5 separate regions of the Homo sapiens genome follow, and regions 1, 2, 4 and 5 are each linked to region 3. The links are contacts of gene promoters, found by promoter capture Hi-C in blood cells and fetal thymus (Javierre and others, 2016). All regions are on one chromosome and are shown on one strand. The core of a region is centred on a gene start or on the middle of the fragment in contact, and the rest is flanking DNA. Distances in the headings are between cores, read along the strand shown.

What was found. Contacts are between HindIII fragments. The CHiCAGO score rates a contact against its expected background, and 5 or more counts as called.
Region 1: a fragment that was not itself captured here is called in contact with the fragment with the promoter of ZDHHC9 in region 3 in 11 of 17 cell types (activated CD4 T cells, naive CD4 T cells, non-activated CD4 T cells and 8 more); the score reaches 12.2 in activated CD4 T cells.
Region 2: a contact is called between a fragment that was not itself captured here and the fragment with the promoter of ZDHHC9 in region 3, in 9 of 17 cell types (non-activated CD4 T cells, activated CD4 T cells, neutrophils and 6 more). The highest score is 9.5, in non-activated CD4 T cells.
Region 4: a contact is called between a fragment that was not itself captured here and the fragment with the promoter of ZDHHC9 in region 3, in 6 of 17 cell types (naive B cells, neutrophils, monocytes and 3 more). The highest score is 7.1, in naive B cells.
Region 5: a contact is called between a fragment that was not itself captured here and the fragment with the promoter of ZDHHC9 in region 3, in 1 of 17 cell types (neutrophils). The highest score is 7.2, in neutrophils.

What each region holds. Positions count from the first base shown.
Region 1 is chrX:130,103,434-130,106,133 of GRCh38, forward strand. The region is part of intron 1 of ELF4 (E74 like ETS transcription factor 4); the gene reads right to left. Among named protein-coding and RNA genes, the nearest start is that of ELF4, 5.7 kb to the right of the region's middle. RefSeq lists a silencer at 161-455. The HindIII fragment of the contact is 182 bases long and covers 1,178-1,359 here.
Region 2 is chrX:130,126,142-130,128,841 of GRCh38, forward strand. It overlaps a transcript of RAB33A not described here. Among named protein-coding and RNA genes, the nearest start is that of ELF4, 17 kb to the left of the region's middle. The HindIII fragment of the contact is 9,973 bases long and covers 1-2,700 here.
Region 3 is chrX:129,842,582-129,845,281 of GRCh38, forward strand. ZDHHC9 (zDHHC palmitoyltransferase 9) reads right to left here and starts at 1,305. Exons shown (of 11, transcript NM_016032.4): 1 at 1,115-1,305; 2 at 678-745. The HindIII fragment of the contact is 4,624 bases long and covers 1-2,087 here.
Region 4 is chrX:129,550,394-129,553,093 of GRCh38, forward strand. All of the region lies in intron 4 of OCRL (OCRL inositol polyphosphate-5-phosphatase), which reads left to right. Among named protein-coding and RNA genes, the nearest start is that of OCRL, 11 kb to the left of the region's middle. The HindIII fragment of the contact is 2,986 bases long and covers 1-2,700 here.
Region 5 is chrX:129,569,651-129,572,350 of GRCh38, forward strand. The region is part of intron 15 of OCRL (OCRL inositol polyphosphate-5-phosphatase); the gene reads left to right. Among named protein-coding and RNA genes, the nearest start is that of OCRL, 31 kb to the left of the region's middle. The HindIII fragment of the contact is 7,309 bases long and covers 1-2,700 here.

The sequences.
Region 1 (2,700 bases), core at 19-2,518, 260 kb after region 3:
TCAACATCATCAGTCAATACAAACATCATCAGGAAAATACAAATTAAAATCACAATGAGATACCACTGCACACTTATTAGAATGGCTAATTAGAAGTGGTCATCTAATGAGACAGGTGTTTTCTGTGCATAGATTCTCATAGAATTAGCAGAGCTGAACTAGCCTCTGTTATCCTCAGGGGGCATTATAGGAAAAAGATTAGCTCCTCATTCTATGTCTAAATACCTCCTTGTTATCGGGTCATCAGGAATTTCGGGAGGTTAAGAATAATTGCCACCCTCCCATCCCCCAAAGCCTAGCAGTTCTAACTGAGGGGTGGGGACCAAGGGACTGAGTGGAGTGCTTTACTCAGGGGTGGTCCAGTTTATCCTAGGCTGCCTGTCCCTGCGGGTGGTCACAGGCTCCTCAAGCAAACACAATCCAGTCAATAGCAAATGGAACCTCCAAGTTACTCTCTGGGAGGCCTCTGGAAGGGCACTGGCCCCCAGTCCCCTGGGAGCTCTTCTGGGCAAAGGCAGTGCCCCAGCCTCAACTCAAGGCCTCTGGGCATTGGCCCAGAATGGACCCATCATCTATTCTAGTGAAGGGTGAGAGTGAGTGGTAGTCAGCCAGTTGGCTCCCAGAATTTTACACTCAGTAGGATAATAACAACAATCTGATGATTGCTAAATAGTTCCCAGGAGTACAACGTTAGGCCTCTCAAAGAAACTAACTTACTCTTATTTCTGCAGTGAATGATGCTCAAGATGAAAATGGTGAAGGACTAAAGAAGGCAATGTTAGTACAAATATTAACGATTTGAGTTTTGCTCTTCACTACAGCACTGCCTGCCATTCAGTATATTACACACACACACACACACACACACACACACACACACACACACCTTCTATTACATCCTTTCCCTATCCTGTGCAATGGCCGAGTTAACAAAAAGCAGAAAAACCTGGAAAATCTCCCGCTTAGTTTCAGAAATGGGTGTGGCATGCCCTGCCCGCATTGCCGAAGAAGTAGTTGGTCCCTAGAGCCTGGCAAAGTCAAGGGTGTGTGAAGGGGAAATGGTGACAACAATAATAATAACTGTCACAGGAATAATAATAACAGCAGTGAACACTTACTGGGTGGGTACTATATGCCAGGCACTCTGCTGAGTGCTTTATATGCATCGTCTCATTTAAGCTTCACTCCAACCCTGTGAGATGGGCGCTGACTCCCAGAGTGGTTAAGTAACTAGCTCAACAGCAAATAGTCACACAGCCAGTAAGTTTGGCATATAAATGTAGAGAGCCTGTGCTCTTCCTCCTCTAGACAATAACATGTATTGGGAAGGATATTGGGTCACACTGGAAGAGGAAAGGAAGCTTCAGGAGAGTCAGGTGTTCTGAGAGGCAGGAAGTGCCCACACTGGGCCAAGAAAATGACCCATCAAGAAGGTGGCAACTCGGCTGGGTGCGGTGGCTCATGCCTGTAATCCCAGCACTTTGGGAGGCCAAGACAGGTGGATCACCTGAGGTCAGGGGTTCGAGACCAGGCTGGCCAACATGGTGAAACCCCGTCTTTACTAAAAAATACAAAAAAAAAAGAAAATTAGCTGGGCATGGTGGTAGGTGCTTGTAATCCCAGCTACTTAGGAGGCTGAGGCAGGAGAATTGCTTGAACCCGGGAGATGGAGGTTGCAGTGAGCCAAGATCACACCACTGCACTCCAGCCTGGGCGACAGAGCAAGACTCTGCCTCAAATTAAAAAAAGAAAAGAAGGTGGCAACTCAAGGGAAAGCTTGCTCAGCCTCTACAAGCTGCTCAGCTTGCTTCTTGTTAGCCTCTCTGAGAAATGTTCTGGCACTTTCCCTTGCAGACCTTCCTGCATGAAACACCCTTCCCTGCTCCCTGACCCTCCTCCTCACCCTGGAAGCAGGCTGGGGTCTCTTTGCCGAGAAACTCACCTTAGGGCATGATTTCCCAACCAAGAAGTCAGGGCCCTCTGGTATGTCCCTTTGGTGTTGAAATGTGCTGGGGAGGAGGCAGGGCAGTGAGAGAGGGAAAATGATGAGTGTGTGTATGTGGCAGGGGGATGTCCGGGAGTTTTTTATCCAATTAAACCCAACCAGGGCCAAGCTTCCTCCATGTCCAGCCTTGGGAGACACAGAATCAGTGGAAGCAATATATGGCTAGTCCTTAGCGGTCTGGGCAGAAACACATGAAACTCTACATTCTTCATTTCCCAGATGGTGGAGTGGGGAACAATTATGAAAATCTCTTTCCTCCACCTGAAGCTCTGGGCTTCCAGAGAAATCCCAGAACCCTGGGGAAAAGGTGGGATCCAGCCAGCCTGAGACTGCCATGAGCACAAGTGGCATGTCAGTTTTCCTGTCATTTAAGTGCCCTACGTCTCCCCTGCCATCTCTCCCACTCCCCAGGGGCCTGTGTGTGTGTGTGTGTGTGTGTGTGTGTGTGTGTGTGTGTGTGTGTCTGGTAAGGGAGGGGTTTCAAACGAAATCCCCTCAGCTTGGGTGGCAGGCTGGCCAGCCAGTTTATATCTCCCGGAGTGGAGACAGGGGTTTGCACTGAGCCACCCACACTAGCTGACCTGGTCTTTTATGTGACACACATTTGCCAAACAATCATCCAGGCTTCGAAGGTCAGTTCGTGGCCAGGGAATAGAGAGAAAGGCGTCTTTTCTTCCTTTTCTGCTGAGCCAAAT
Region 2 (2,700 bases), core at 76-2,575, 280 kb after region 3:
TCACAGACCAGCTATTGAGGGCCAAACCTCGACTGGCACTGCTTGTCTGTGGAGTCAGAAATCAGACCCTAGAGGCCAGTGGCTCATGCCTGTAATCTCAGCACTTTGGGAGGCCGAGGCAAGACAGATCACCTGAGGTCAGGAGTTCGAGACCAGCCTGGCCAACGTGGCGAAACCCCATCTCTACTAAAAATACAAAAATTAGCCGGGTGTGGTGGCGTGTGCTTGTAATCCCAGCTACCCGGGAGGCTGAGGCAGGAGAATCGCTTGAACCCAGGAGGTGGAGGTTGCAGTGAGCTGAGATCACCCACTGCACTCCAGCCTGGGCAACAGAGCGAGACTCCATCTCAAAAAGAAAAAAAAAAAGAAAAGAAAGAAAGAATTTGGACCCCAGGATCCTCAGGGGCTTGGGCAGATTAAATGCATCCTGGGTAAGTGGCAAGTTGTGACAGCTGAGTGAAGTGGTGATGATCTGAACATCCTCCCATAAACAACCTGAATTACAGAGATCAGAGGTTACAAGACAGAGGTGCATTTTTACAGTCAGCCCTGTTATCTAGCATCATCCAGCCAATCAACCAAGGACTTGCTCAGCACTTCACCAGGGTGCAGCAATATGGTCCCCATCCTGAAAAGAAAACATGGGCTCTGCTCTGGGACAGGTGACAATTCCTTTAGAATGACTTAAAGAACAATTACACTCAAAGGTGCTAAGTGCAACTGGAGTTCAGAGAGAAATCATGCATGGGCACTAGTCCAACTGGTACCATGCCACCAAGGCAGGACTTGATGTAGGCCTTGAAAGATGAGTAGGATTTGGATAGATAAAGGGAGGAGGGATGGCGTTCCGGATGTGAAGAGCATGAACACAAGTTTAAAGGTGGCAATAAACCAGGTGTGTGTGTGTGTGTGTGTGTGTGTGTATGTCCATATTAAAAGTCAGGCGGAAAGTCAGCCAAACAGAGTGGGCTTAGTACTACAGGAGACTTTGAACTTGATGTGGTTGGTGACAGGGAATCACTGTACATTTTTAAACAGGGAGGGGACATGGACCAAGTGGTGGCTTTAGGAAGTGGTCTAATAGCAGTGGTTGACTCAGGATGGCTGCTGTGGCTGATCTCTCCATTCTTGGCATGGCCACAGTACTTTTTGTGTCCTTCTGTGGACGTAGCTCATTGTATTGGAGTTCTGCATCCACATGTCTGCATTCCTCACGGACACCAGGAGGTCCTTAAAAGCAGTGGCTATGTTTTATCTATGTTTCTATTCTGACATCTACCTGGCTCACAGGAGGCACCCAATGAACACTGATTAGATGAATAGATCATTTAATTTCAATCCACTGAACTACAATGACATACTATACAAGGATAACTACTGTCAAAGAATTTGACAAAACTGTATACAACACTAAAGCAAGACAAATCACAATTTGATCTTTTCTTAATGATTTGTGGAACACTAGGATCTTAGTCTTACCCCCATCTCTGTAAGCAGCAATTACTGCTGTATAATAATTTCGATGTCACAGGATACTAGATGAGTTTTCCTTTTTTTTTTTTTTTTGAGATGGAATATTGCTGTGTTGCCCAGGCTGGAGTGCAGTGGTGTGATCTTGGCTCACTGTAACCTCCGCCTCCCAGGTTCAAGCAATTCTCCTGTCTCAGCCTCCTGAGTAGCTGGGACTACAGGTGCATGCCACCATGCCTGGCGAATTTTTGTATTTTTAGTAGAGATGGGGTTTTACCATGTTGGCCAGGATGGTCTCGAACTCCTGACCTCAGGTGATCTACCTGCCTTGGCCTCCCCAAGTGCTGGGATTACAGGCGTGAGCCACTGTGCGCAACCCTAGATGAGTTTTCTACATATAGATTTGGATATATCATTTGGATATGATCACATTTGAGTAAACCTGTATCTATATAGTATTGTTCGGTATACCTGTACTGCAAATTCTTACGGTGGAGATTTGGCCTGTTCTCCCAGTGTTCAGAAGGGATTTGGTTGAAGCTGAAACTGCCCTTAATCAAACCCAATATTTAAAAAAAATCCAGACTGGTAATAATTTTCTCTTTATATACATGGAGTTTAACAACAGGACTCTTGAAAGTAGTAACAAATTCCTCTTAAATAAGATTTGATGTTTTTAGGCCGGGCGCGGTGACTCACACCTGTAACCCCAGCACTTTGGGAGGCCGAGGCGGGCAGATAACCTGAGATAGGGAGTTTGAGACCAGCCTGACCATCATGGAGAAACCCCATCTCTACTAAAAATACAAAATTAGCCAGGCGTGGTGGCGCATGCCTGTAATCCCAGCTATTTGGGAGGCTGAGGCAGCAGAATCACTTGAATCCGGGAGGTAGAGGTTGTGATGAGCCTAGGTCGCACCATTGCACTCCAGCCTGGGCAACAAGAGCAAAACTCCATCTCAAAATAATAATAATAAGATTTGATTTTTAAAAGTTAAGCAATCTAAAATGCCAAACAATGAGTTGACTTGTGAAACTTTGAATCGTATTCCCAGGAAATAATCTGTAAAGTGAGGTATGCCCATAAGCGTATTTCAGAGAAAAGGAGCTTAAGAGAGGACAGATGTCTGGCATGAGGACAGCAGGCAGAAGAGTCAAGAGATGATGGTCCTTCCATGAGTCCGTCTCCAGGTTTAACTGTGAAGCACCAGGTCTCTGAACTCAGATTTG
Region 3 (2,700 bases), core at 55-2,554:
TCCTCCACTTCACCTTCTTTCTTCAATTAGCCACTCGAATATGAATCACAGCAGGGAACAAGTCACCCTCTGGCAGGGCCAGGAGGTTCTGGACGCTCTGTGCACATACGTGCATTGTATTTACACAAAACAGATTTCCCCTCATCAAACCCTCTGCAACTTCCTGAGTCCGGGAAATGAAACAATCTGGCTGGTCTAGCCTAACATTTGTGAGAATCTTAATGAAACCACATCAGAGACCTGTAGGTGAAAGGCTGACTTAAGCAGGAGAGATTCTGGAATGGTTGGTGACTGCTGATGGCTGGTTGGGGGGTGGGGAATGGCAGCAGCTAAGAAAAGTCACAAGGGCGCTTTCTGGGACATGTCCTAAGTACCATCTCTACTCAGCATCCTGAATTCCCAGGCCCAGAGTTTCTCAGCCTCTGCTACCCTTCTCCTCCGCTCAGGTGTGGTGTTGTGGCCTCTATTTACCGACACCACATGCCCCACGCTGGCAGGACTGAGGCGGAAGCCTGCAGCCCGACGGACGGAGGGAGAAACAGCCAACTCGCGGGCTGGAGAGGGCAAAGGTCCAAAAACAGCCTAGGAGCGGAGCAGGGAAACGAGAAGGTAGAAGGTTCGGGGAAGGGGAGGGGGGCCCAGAGGTGCAGAGAACCCGTCCTTTGTGTAAAACTAACCTGGAAGACAATCTCCTCCCGATAAACCGGCCCAGCGGGAGAAGGGAGACCAGGAAGGGGGAGCCGGCCTGGAAGAACAAAGATCAAAATCCGTCGGGAAGCAGCGACCGGCTCCCCAGCGGGGGGCCGGAGGCCGGAGGCCGGAGTCCGGGGCCGAGCCGCGGGCGCGGCCTCTCGAGGCCCGCCCTGACTCCGCCACGCCGCGGACCACCGCCCCAGGCAGGTTGGGACGCGCGCCACATCCACACGCACACGCAGCCACACGCTCGTACACACTCACACACGCCCCGCCACGTGTAGTCACCCCGGGCCAGGGGCTCGGCGGCTGCCGAGTTGAGAAGGGCGGTGCCGACGTCCCCGCCTCCAGGCGCCGCGGAAGGGGAGGCAGCCCACCCTGCAGCCGAGCCCAGGAGACCCCCGCCCCCACCCCTCGTTACCTGAACCACGGAGACCCAACTCGGCCGGCAGCTGACGGCAGGAAACGGACCGTCCCAGGGAATCACGTCGGCAGCCAAAGGTGGCAGCGACTTGTCCTCCCCGGGCCGGGAGGCTGTCTCCTCCTGACAAGGGGCCCCAGTGGTCGGGGCCCTAAACCAGCTGTGGCAACCGCCCACCACTGGCCAAATGGAACGCTCCTCACGTCACCAGGTCGCTCCAGTAGTTGCTCGCCCTCTATTGGCCGATCGGCCTCGGCGCCTCCGCCCCGGCCGCCCCTATCCCGAACTGCCATTGGTTTTGCCTAACGCCACTCGACGATGCCTCCGCCCACTCCTCCACCCATCTCCCTGCTGCATGCCCACCTGCCAAGCCACTGCCAGCCTCTCTTTGGGGTCTGAGCGCCAGTATGTGAAGTGTTGCCTTCTATTAATATAGTTACGCAGAGACGGAGGTTAAGGGTAGTGCCGATGGGACAGCAAAGGGTGGAACCAGCCTACACACACGCGCGCGCGCGCGCACACACACACACGCGCGCGCACACACACACACAGTGAGATGCTGAAGCAACACTAGCTCACAGATCCGGGTGCTCACCCCAAACTAGGTCTGCCATGGGCCTCTCCAGCCCTGCTTGCATTTTAAAATCAACCGCAACTTGAGATTTTACTCTTTATCGGCATAAAAACAAGTCATCTGCCTCCCAAGTCTCATTCAGTAGCCAGGGACCCCATATCTGTCCCAGTCACCCTAGCCTGCATCTCTAAGTCTTTCAAATCAAAACACACAAACAAGCATAAAAAGCATGTTGTAAAGGATAAATGTCCCCAAGAACGTATTATCATTTTGCAGCACCTAAAACAACTAATTGACATTAATGGAGTTAAAGAAACTCCACTGAGGACATAAATTCTTCCAGGTAGGTAATGAAGTAAAGATTGCCAAAAAGGTTGTAAATTTTTATTCGGTTTGGAAAGCTTATGATGATTAAGGGGAGAATCCAAGGCAGAATTCCCACCCACCAACCAGATTGATTTTTTCCTTCTGCCACCCAGCTCTGCATTACTGCCACCATGAGCCACTGCTACTGATCCGAGTGAGTTGCATGCATTAAAAGTTTGAGATTGGGCTGGGCGCGGTGGCTCACGCCTGTAATCCCAGCACTTTGGGAGGCCGAGGCAGGTGGATCACCTGAGGTCAGGAGTTCAAGACCAGCCTGGCCAACATGGCAAAACCCGTCTCTACTAGAAAGACAAAAGTTAGCGGGGAGCGGTGGGACTCGCCTGTAGTCCCAGCTACCAGGGAGGCTGAGGCAGGAGGATCACTTGAACCCAGGAGGTGAAGGTTGCAGTGAGCCAAGATCATGCCACTGCACTCCAGCCTGGGCGACAGAGAGAGACCCTGTCTTAAAAAAAAAAAAAAAAAAGTTTGAGATTGAAGGGGGGAAACAATTGAGAACCACAGTATTATACTATAGGGTGACTTTAAAAGACACTAGGTCTGTTTTCACCAGTATGGCTCCTGCCTTCCAAATATAAGAGGAAATATGAGAAAAGGTTGAAGGTGGCATCTCCTTTCCAAGTGTAAG
Region 4 (2,700 bases), core at 45-2,544, 290 kb before region 3:
TTAAAAACCAAATATTTCACCATAGGTCTGTGCCAAATTTTATTAAATTAACTTCTTTATAAAATTAAGTCATTGTCAAGGAACATGATATATCTGTTTTTTTCAGGTCCTCTTTTATATCTTTCAATAAAATTTTATAGTTTCTTAATATATATAGTTTTTAGGTTAAGTATTTCGTGGTGGATTTTATTTGCTGCTATTGCGAGTGGAGGTTTTTTCTATGTCCTTCTAATTGTTTATTACTAGTATACAGAATAGCTGTTGAGTTGTGGATATTTATCTTTTATCCAGTTGCTTCATTGAAATTTATTTTTAATCTTTTTTGCTTTTCATTTTGTTTTTTCATTTTGGTAGCTAACCTTAATATCTATAAATAATAATTTTGTCTCTTTTCTAGTAGCTACTATCGTTGTACACTATACCAGTGAGAATTTTGGGACCAGTGGTAAATGATGATGTTTCTTGTTTGGCTCCTGATTTCAGTGAGAATGCCTCAAGTGGTATTTCACTGTTAATGACATTATTGCTTGTTGATTTGACAGGGTTTTTTTTTTTTTTAATTAAGAAACTGCATTTATTTCAAGTTTGTGTTTTTTAAAATTATGAATGTATACTGAATTTTAGCAAATGTCTTTTTGGTATTTATGGAGATGATTTTATTCTTCCTTATTTGACCAATTGGTACACTGTATTGTACTAATTTCCTAAAATTAAACTGTCCCTTGTTTATCCATTATTCAACAAATATTTGTTGAGTGCCTTCTATTTCTCAGGCACTTTTGTAAGTGCAGAATCAGTACAGAACGACAAAGATAAAGTTGCTGCTCCTACTTTGGTTCTTGCTTCTGTGCAATTCAGTACTAGTGTCACACAGATACCTATAATTCAATCATTCATTCTATAAAAATATGACTATTTTTTATGTGCCAGGAACTACACTAGGCTCTAGGGATATAGCAGAAAGCAGTACAGTCATGATACTTTAAGGATTTTAATATAGGAAACAGACTTTAAACTGATAAGATATAGATAATTGTAGTTTTTTTTGTTTGTTTTTTTGAGATGGAGTCTTGCTCTGTCATCCAGGCTGGAGTGCAGCGGTGCCATCTTGGCTCACTGCAAGCTCCGCCTTCCAGGTTCACACCATTCTCCTGTCTCAGCCTCCCGAGTAGCTGGGACTACAGGCACCTGCCACCATGCCTGGCTAATTTTTTGTGTTTTTAGTGAAGACAGGATTTCACCATGTTAGCCAGGATGGTCTCAATCTCTTGACCTCGTGATCTGCCCGCCTTGGCCTCCCAAAGTGCTGGGATTACAGGCGTGAGCCACCGTGCCTGGCCCAGATAATTGTAGTTTTAATAAATGCTCTTGAGGAAAAGTACTAAGAGTTTATGAGAAGAGTAAGTATATTAGGAGGGTGGTCAGGGAAGACCTCTTTGAAGAATTGACATTTAAATTGAGACCAGAGGGGCTAAGTAAGAGGCAGGTTAAGATGGGAGAGAGAAGAATTTACCAGGTAAAGGGAATCACAAGGCTCCAGGCTGGGAAGTAGCTTGACACTTTTCTTTGAAGTGATAGAAGACCAGGGTGCCTAAAACAGGTCTTGGGCACCAAGGTAAGAAAAACAGGCTAGGGGGCAGATCTGGCAGGATCTTGTAAGCCTTGTCTTAAATCTGAATTTTGAGATTTCAAAAATGAGAATCGTATGAAGGATTTTATGCTGGGGTGTCATCATTTGCATGGAAGCAGAGAGACCAGTTAGGAGGCTGTTTCCATAGTGTAAGCTAGAGAGTGTGGTGGCATTAGTAATGAAGAGAAGCAGTCAGACTTGATAGATGTTTTTGGAGGTAAAATCCATAGGAATTGTTTTGGGTGTAAGGGGTGAGAGGAAGTGTCAAGGATGAATCTCGGGTTTCTGACATGACTGTGGATGATGGTACCATTTGCAGAAATAAGAACACTGCACAAAGAATGAGTTTTCCTCAAGGGGGAAGGGTCATTAATTTAGTTTTAGTCATGTTTAGTTTGAGATTTTTTTTTTGTTTTTTGAGATGGAGCCTCGGTCTTATCGCCCAGGCTGGAGGGCAGTGGCGCGATCTCAGCTCACTGCAACCTCTGCCTCCCGGGTTGAAGCTATTCCCCTGCCTCAGCCTCCTGAGTAGCTGGGATTACAGGCACCCGCCACCACGCCCAGCTGATTTTTGTACTTTCAGTAGAGATGGGGTTTTGCCTTATTGGCCAGGCTGGTCTGGAACTCCTGACCTCAGGTGATCTGCCCACCTCGGCCTTCCAAAGTGCTGGGATTAACAGGCATGAGCCACCTCACCCGGCTGAGATTTTTTTTGAGACACCTGAGTGTAGATGATAAATTGGCAAGTGAATGTATGCATCTGAATCTCAGAAGAAAGTCATCTGGGTCACTAGCACGTAGATGATATTCAAAATCATAAGAGATGATGTGATTGTGTGTGGACTGTGCTATCCAATACAGTAGCCACTGGCTACATGTGCCTATTTAAAATAATTAGAAATAAAATGAGAAATTCAGTCCCTCAGTTGCAGTAGTCACATATCAAATTGTTAGCTACCATATTGGACAGCACGGTTTAGAGCATGCCCATAGTCACAGAAAGTCCCATTGGACAATACTGGTATAGAATGAGAAAAAAGATTTATGTTTGAACTTGAGGAACTCCATTT
Region 5 (2,700 bases), core at 34-2,533, 270 kb before region 3:
CTAAAGTAGGTATGCATAATGAAGAGTTAAAAGCTAAGTTTTATCAGATAGTAAAGAAGGGAAACACCAGGAGGGAGATTCTGGGTGGAAGGGTAGAGACAGCAGGAGCAAAGGCACAGACTGATCAGAATACAGCCAACTCTGTATATTGTCTTAAGGGATATAGTGTCATCCCTACACTTATTTTTTCTTTTTTTTTTTTTTTTTTTTTGAGACGGAGTCTTGCCCTATCCTCCGGGCTGGAGTGCAGTGGTGTGATCTTGGCTCACTGCAACCTCCTCTTCCCGGGTTCAAGCGATGCCCCTGCCTCAGCCTCCCAGAGTGCTGGGATTACAGGCGTGAGCCACCGTGCCCAGCGAATTTTTTTTTAACTCTGTTCTATCCTGGGCTGCATTAATGGCCAGTTATTTAATTTTCTGTCTGTATTGTGAGTAAAGTTTTTTTCCCATTGTATTTTTAAACTGTGTGTTATTGGTATGTAGGTCATATCTTGTAATCATGCTGATTTAATTTGTTACAGCCAGTACATTTAGGTTATTTCTTGTGGATTTTTCAGATCTACAGCCCTATAATCTGTCAGAATGTATATAGTGCAGTGCTTAGTAGAATGGACTTTGTAGTAGACTTCTGGGATTTGCATCCGAGTTCAACCACTTTCTAACTGTGTAACCATGGACAATTTATGTAACATATTTATGCCTCAGTTTCCTCCTCTATTAAGCGTGGGTAATATTGGTACATACTCATGAAGATTAATGAGTTCGGACATGTGAAGAGCATAATGGGATAGGTTTCTTTCCTCTGTGTGTGTGTTGATTTAGGGGGCTTCTGAGATAGATATCACCAACCTGTTTTATCCTGCTCCTGTTTTAAGGAAGAAAGACTTTGGGGCTTTTCATTTAAGATCAGAATTATTTATTGGTCTTAGAATAGATTTTAAATTTTATCAAGACAATCATGACTTTACTTTTGTCCATTTTGAAATTTTAAAATAATAATCATTAATAATAGTAACTGTTCCTCAGATAGCAGCTAGTGGCTGTGTGGCAGGGACTATGTGAGGCAATTTGCACACATCTCATTTACTCCTCACAACAACGCTTTGAGTTAAATACAGTTGATCCTTCAACAACATGGGTTTGAACTACACAGATCCACTTATATCCAGATATTTTCAACCAAATGCAGATGGAAAATACAGTATTCACAGGATGTGAAACCCACGTATAAGGAGGGCCAACTGTGGGACTTGAGTATGCGTGAATTTGATTATACACAGGCCATGCCAGAATCAATCCCCCACAGATCTCAAGGGACAACTGTATTTCCCATTTAACAGATGAGCAGATGGAGAACAGCAAGTTGAAATAACTTATTTAAGAGCATTCAACTAGGAGGAGAGCTGAGATTCCAATCTTAAGTTGGCTTAACTCCCAACTCTGTGCTCTTTCTACTACCCCACAATACCTCTATAATTCTATAGAACTTGATGAAATATACCTTTAGATAACTTCTTTTAGCCCATCTAATTTCTAGTTTGTACTTGCAGGCTGCCCCTTTTTCTTCATTTGAATTCTCTTAATCCATTTTGAGAGGGTATCTTTCCTCAAACACTAACCTCTTTGGTTAGATCAGGTATGCCTGGCTTTTTTGTTTACATTTCTTTTCAAAACCTTCAGATTTTTTTGTTTGTTTTTGTTTTTTGTTTTTTGGTTTTTTTTTTTTTTTTTTTGAGACAGAGTCTCGCTCTGTCACCCAGGTTGGAGTGCAGTGGCACGATCTTGGCTCACTGCAAGCTCCGCCTCCTGGGTTCACGCCATTCTCTTGCCTCAGCCTCCCGCCCAGCTAATTTTTTGTATTTTTAGTAGAGACGGGGTTTCACCATGTTAGCCAGGATGATCTCGATCTCCTGACCTTGTGGTCCACCCGCCTCAGCCTCCCAAAGTGCTGAGATTACAGGCATGAGCCACCGCTCGCAGCCAACCTTGGGATGTTTTTAATACTCCATACACATTAATGCAGAGCTTCTAGTGGGATATTTACATTTTTTTTCAGGCTTCCTGTGTATTTATGTATATCTTTAATAAAGATATGCCTTTTGAGTTTTTAATGATTTTTAAATTATACAGCAATGACAAGTGCTTTTAAAAAAATTAAAAGGAAATTTAAGCAGAATTGACAGATAAGGCAGAAGTTCTTCAATCCCTGTTCTGTCTCCTACTCCCAACTTTGCCTAAACCCCCATTCCCCAGCCAGGCCACTACCCTTAGGAGTTTATATCTTTCTAGACCAGTGCTGTCCAATAGAGCTTTCTGTGATGATGGAAATGTCCTGTATCTGTGCTGTCCAGTCCAGTGGCTTCTAGCAGCAGGGGGCTATTGAGTACTTGAAGTGTGGCTAGTGCAACTGAGAACTGAACTTCTAATTTAATTTAATTTAAAGTAATTTAAATTCAAATTCCCTATGTGGCTAGTCACTATTGTACTGGACAGTGCAGTTCTAGACCTTTGTATATGCTTTTTTGTTCACTCATAGACAAAATACTGATTTGTGTGTGTCTCTATATCATAAACGGTCTTATATGTATGTGTTGGTCTGCAACTTGATTTTTTTTTTTAACTCAGCAGTGTGTCTTGGAGAACCTCCCATCTTATTACATAAAGACCTAGCTCATTGTACTTTTTTTCAAATTCCTAATTT